2 separate regions of the Homo sapiens genome follow, and region 2 is linked to region 1. The links are contacts of gene promoters, found by promoter capture Hi-C in blood cells and fetal thymus (Javierre and others, 2016). All regions are on one chromosome and are shown on one strand. Each heading gives the region's core, a stretch centred on a gene start or on the middle of the fragment in contact. The rest is flanking DNA. Distances are from core to core; before and after follow the strand shown. Region 1 holds the start of MAPK1IP1L (mitogen-activated protein kinase 1 interacting protein 1 like). Region 2 has its middle 2.3 kb from the start of TMEM260.

Region 1 (2,791 bases), core at 59-2,558:
AAACAAGTTCATGGTTAAATGGCCACCCACTCACTCACTAATGCCTTACACAAAGCAAGATGCAAGTGTACCACATACTTTTAGGATATTTTTATATCTTAAAAAATGTATATTGGCCGGGCACAGTGGCTCACGCCTGTAATCCCAGCACTTTGCCGAGGAGGGCGGATCACAAGATCAAGAGATCGAGACCATCCTGGCCAACGTGGTGAAACCTCGTCTCTAAATACAAAAATTAGCTGGGCAAGGTAGCGCGCGCCTGTAGTTCCGGCTACTTGGGAGGCTGAGGCAGGAGAATCGCTTGAACCCGGGAGGCGGAGGTTGCAGTGAGCCGAGATCGCACCGCGCCACTGCACTCCAGCCTGGCGACAGAGCAAGACTCCGTCTCAAAAAAAAAAAAAAAGTATATTGCATATATGTATATATTTTGCACACCATATAATTATCACGACATCTTTATTGCTAGTTAGTAGGTTCCTTGACTGGGGTCATGTCATCTGTGCCTGACACAGGAGGTAATGTTTATTCAGAAATGAAGATGGCGGCTGGGCACGGTGGCTCACACCTGTAATACCAGCTCTTTGGGAGGCCGAAGCGGGCAGATCGCTTGAGGCTAGCAGGGTGAGACCCCATCTCTATCAAAAACACAAAAATAAGCCGGATGTGGTGGCACATGCCTGCAGTCTCAGCTACTCGGAGGCTAAGATGGGAGGATTGCTTGAGACCAGCAGGCAGAGGTTGCAGTGAGCCGAGATCGCGCCACTGCACTCCAGCGTGTGTGACAGAGGCCCTGTCTCAAAAACAACAAAAAAGAACATGGGAGAAGAGGCATTGATGAGGAAAAATCTACAAAGAAAGCAAATATCAATTTGTCAAGCTATTTGCAAACGTCTTCCCTTTCCTGTATTAATATTTTCCCTCTCCCCACTTTTGGCCCGAGGATCTGAGTCCTCGGGTCAGGCCGAAATCAGACCGCGTCCATACCCAGCCTCCTTCGAGGCCTAGCTGTAAAAACCGCTGAGCAAAAGGAATCCAGAATCAGCCCTCAAGCAACTCAAGACAAGTTAGCAATTTCCGCCGGGAAGCCGTGAACATCGGCAGCCACTGGCGTTTCCTCCGAGTCCTCGGAACTCCGGAAACTCTGGGAGCTTTTAGCCCGCCCACCAGGGGAAAGCGGCCCGGAGCCGGCGCCAGGTGGAGCCCATCCCCCTAGGCCTGGCGGGCCGCAGTACCGCCAGGGGCCTGCGGGAGGCGCACGCGGCGCGGCCTGAGGGGAGGGGGAGAACGGGCGGAGGCGGTGCGCTCGGCGCTTCCTGTTCCGGCGCCAGGAGGAGCCGCGCGCTGCTGGTGCTGTTGCCGCCGCTGCTCTAGCTGCCGTCAGTCAGGCTGCGCCCGCGTCTTCAGGGCCCAGTCCCTCGGACCCATCGCCGCTTCTAGACCCTACTGCGGTCTCGGATATTGCCGGGTGAGGCTGCTTCGGTACTAGTGGGAGTCGTGAAGGGGAATCGGGGAGCTGGGGTTGCGGAGCCCGCGGGCGCGGCCAAGCGGGAAGCGGGCGCGGTGACCGAGGTGCATCGAGTCACGTCCAGTGCTCGGGCCGTGGTCGCCTGCCTGGCACCAGGACTAAGCGTTTCTATCGGTCGCCTTCCTCCACGCTGCGGGCTGCCTGGGGATCGCCCCCCAGGGAGAAGGTGTCGGAGGCCGCTGACGTCGCGCCCGACGGGTTTCTGGGCGCCTGACGTCAGGTCTGGCTGCGGGGCGGGGCGGGCGCGGGCCGGCCCCTCCCCCACCCCTTCCCGGCGGGCGCGACCCGCTAGGAGGCCGGTTCGCTCCGGTTGATCCCGGACTCCCTTTGTTCGTGCGTCCCTAAACGGCTGCCGGCCTCGCGCCCCTTGGCCCCGATTTCCCCTCTACCCCCACCCTATTACACTCATTCATTAATTTTTAATAAAAAGGGAAAGGCCTGAAAAGATTCTTACAAGAGTCTCGGGCGCTTGTTAATCCGCAGTGTGACAACGTTCTGGTTATGACTTACTAGAGGAATTGCTCACGGATACATTAGATGAATACCCAGGGCAAACCACGAGAAGGGCAGAATTCAGTGATCTCCTTTTTTAGGACTGAGGAGCACATACCTGCGATAGCGTATGCATAGCTGGACCGTTTTCCTCTTTACCTTGAAAAGCAAGAGTACAGCTTTTAATAGGTAAAGATTCCAGTGTTAAAGCATGAAGCCAGGCTCACTCGACCGCAAGAATTTTTTTTAGTTTTACTACTAGAGAAATACACACCTGGGGGTTGTAAAGGTCTGTTTCGAAAAGGAACCCTCATTACAGGCAAAGGTAGCCTTCAGAAACATTTCATAAGTTCTTTGTTCACTGGTGTTCTTTGGGGGAAGAATAGAAATTTTTCATGCTGGCATCTCTGAGCCCACAATGCAAAGCGAGTTTGCTTCAGAAACTTGGAGTGAATTGCAAATATTGGAATGTTCTTTTCCTCACTCCAGGCGGAATGGGTAAAATCCATCCCCAGTCTCTTAACTGAAACTTTTGAAGCTAGTGTGTTTTGAATTCAAAAATACTTGGATTTTATCTTCATCTTTTTAGAAAGTCATGTTAGACGAGAGATAACACCCCCAGCAGAGTGGGGCACCCCATAATCCAACATTAATATTTGCAGCAATAGATGTGAACATTCATTCTAAGTGGGGGCGAATAGAAACTATAAATAGCTTCAGGTCACATTTTGCCACCATGTAAGTTTTGTGCCAAACTAGGGCAGATAAAGATTT
Region 2 (2,700 bases), core at 24-2,523, 1.5 Mb after region 1:
TAAAGAGAGACATCATGAGGTCTCTCTCTTTATCTCTAACATTTTCTATCTTCAACCCTTCTCTTCTGTCCTCCTCAGTCCCATCCTCTCCAATAACCTGTACATCTTTACTTCATCACTATGTCTCTCCAAATACTCCCTTGAGTTACAAACAAAACAAGACATTCAAAAATCTTCATTTGACACTTCGATCCCTGTGAATTTTCATGCTATTTCTCTCTTTCCCTTCACTGCCAAACTTTTTGCAAATGTATTTTATTTTCATGTCTTCCATTTGCTCACTTCTTAGCCCACTAGTACCTTGTTTCTGTAGATACTACTCTACTGAAGCTGACCTCTTGAACTTTCAAGGTTCAAATACCTCCAGGTCACCAAATCCAACCATGCAGAGCCTGCTAGTTGCCCCTCAGTATCCATTCTCCCCTTCTTCCTTTGTAATAGAATTCTAGGCAAACTGTCCAGCTGAAAAGTCTATTTCGCAGCATCCTTTGCCCCTAGGAGTGACCTGTTATTCAATTTTGGCCAATTAGATATAGCAAAATTGTGGAATAGCATTTAAAAAAATAGTGCTTTTTTAAAAAAGCTGGAGCAGGCCTTTCTCTTCCCATCCTTTCTTTTTCTTCCTCAAGAACAGATGTAATGTCTGGAGCATTAGCAGCCACCTTGGATCAGTAGATGACCTTGAGAATGTGAGCTGAGTGGGATGGTGCAGAAAGATATGAGGACTTCAGCTGTGTCCCTAGTGGAATCAGGGAGTTGCCAAGCCAGTGGTAGACTGACTTCCTATAGACTTCTGACTTCTTTTATATAAGAGAATGATTGTTTTAATGTTTAAGACACTGTAGCAGGATCTGTCACTAGTAGCTAAATGCAATCCCTAACGGATATGCCAGTGATCTCTGATTGTTCATGTATTCATTTATTACATAAATATTTGTTTAGCACCAATTTTGTGCCAGGCATCATTTTAAATATGGTGGAAATTAGACAAAGTCCATCAGGTTTGACAGGCTATTTAGACATAGAAATGGAGAGGTCGGGGGCAGTTGGGTTTTTTAAAATAATCGGTCGCTAAAAAAGAGAAGCAGAGGAGGTCTAATTTTGAGAAATATTGCCCCATAGTTGCCCTTTAAAGCTTCAATATGATCATCTCGGGAAAGAAGACAGAAAGAGAGAAAAGTCTAGAACAGCCCAGGAATACTTCAGCATTTGGGGGACCGACAGAAGCAGAGCCAGGGCAGGGAGGCCATTGATAAAAGGAAAACCAAAGAGTGTGCTATCAATGAAGGCCAGAAAAGAAAATACTTCCGGGGAGGAAGGAATAGTCAGATGCTTACTGAGAGGTAGAGTCAGACATAAACAGAGAACTGGAAGTTCTTAATCTTCAAAGGAAAACAACCATGAAGCTAATGAAGCTTAGGCCTCACAGTTCCTCTCTAGCCCAGGTGTCTTCCAATATCTTGTGCCTAATTCTGTATCTGCAGTTTTATATCAGTTTACTTACATATAATTCTCCAAGTTTTATACACTTGAGCTTCACAAAATCTAGACGTGCCTCTCTTCATTGTCCTTTACCTCTCTGTAACATCCTGACCACATGTACTTCATCGACTTTTCTTCTTTAGCTTCTGGTGATGCCTCATTCTCTTACACTGTTCTCTCCCCTTCTCCAGCCATTCCCTAAATGAGAATATGGGCTGACATTAGACCTCAACCTTGTTCTCTCTACACTATCCCCTTATCAAGTTAGTCATTTATATCATCCTTACACGAGCAACTCCTAAATTTGTACTTCCAGCACTGATCTCTACCTCCCAAACATGGACAAAGAATTATTCCCCTCCAAAATAAAAAAATTTTAAATAAAACTCATGAGCAAAAGTGAAATGCATAAAAAGGGAAAGAAGTATATGCTTGACCCAGTCAAGGTTACTCATTGGCATGTTCTTTCAGCAAAGAAATAGAAGACAGCCTATCTTAACTATCTATTGCTGATAACTAACAAATTAGCCTGCATTTATCAACTTAAAACAACATTTATTATCTCGCGGTTTCTATAGGACAGCAGTCTGGATGAGGCTTAGTTAGGTCCTCTGCTTCAGGGTCATCCACAGGCTGCAATCCAAGTCTTGACAGGAGTTATAGTTATCTCAAGGCTTATGTGGGGGAAGGATCCACTTCCTAGCTCCCTCACATGGTGTTGCCTAGATTCAGTTCCTCTAAGGTTGTTGGACTGAAGGTCTCAGTTTCTTGCCAGCTGTTGGCTAGAGGCGGCTCTCAGTTTCTTCCCATGTGGACCTTTCCACAGGGCAGCCTACACCATGGTAGGTGGCTTCATCAGAGAGAACAAGTGAGAGGACAAGAGGGAGTGCCAGCAAGATGAAAGTTAGTCTTTCATAACCTAATCTTGAAAGTGACATCCATCACTTTTGCCTTATTGTATTGATAGAAGCCAATCCTTAGGTTAAGCTCACACATAAGGCGAGCAGCTTATACAGGAAGTGAGTGAGGAGGCAGGGTTATCTGGGAATCCATTTTAGAAGCACTCTACCACACAGCCCCTCTCCTCCAGGAACTCACAGTACAGCTGAGAAATTACCTGGAAAAGGCTGGAAATTGTATAAGTACCTGGAAAAGACTAAGGTGTGCTGGCCCCATGACCGTCAAGGTAGGTATATGTTACTCTATAGTTTAGTCACT

What was found. The method cuts DNA at HindIII sites, captures the fragments that hold promoters and counts their contacts. A CHiCAGO score of 5 or more calls a contact.
Region 2: a fragment that was not itself captured here is called in contact with the fragment with the promoter of MAPK1IP1L in region 1 in 1 of 17 cell types (fetal thymus); the score reaches 6.0 in fetal thymus.

What each region holds. Positions count from the first base shown.
Region 1 is chr14:55,050,339-55,053,129 of GRCh38, forward strand. MAPK1IP1L (mitogen-activated protein kinase 1 interacting protein 1 like) reads left to right here and starts at 1,309. Exons shown (of 4, transcript NM_144578.4): 1 at 1,309-1,465. RefSeq lists enhancers at 671-1,360, 900-1,099 and silencers at 1,130-1,369, 1,720-1,879. The HindIII fragment of the contact is 10,117 bases long and covers 1-2,791 here.
Region 2 is chr14:56,576,157-56,578,856 of GRCh38, forward strand. No RefSeq gene overlaps it. Among named protein-coding and RNA genes, the nearest start is that of TMEM260, 2.3 kb to the right of the region's middle. The HindIII fragment of the contact is 280 bases long and covers 1,134-1,413 here.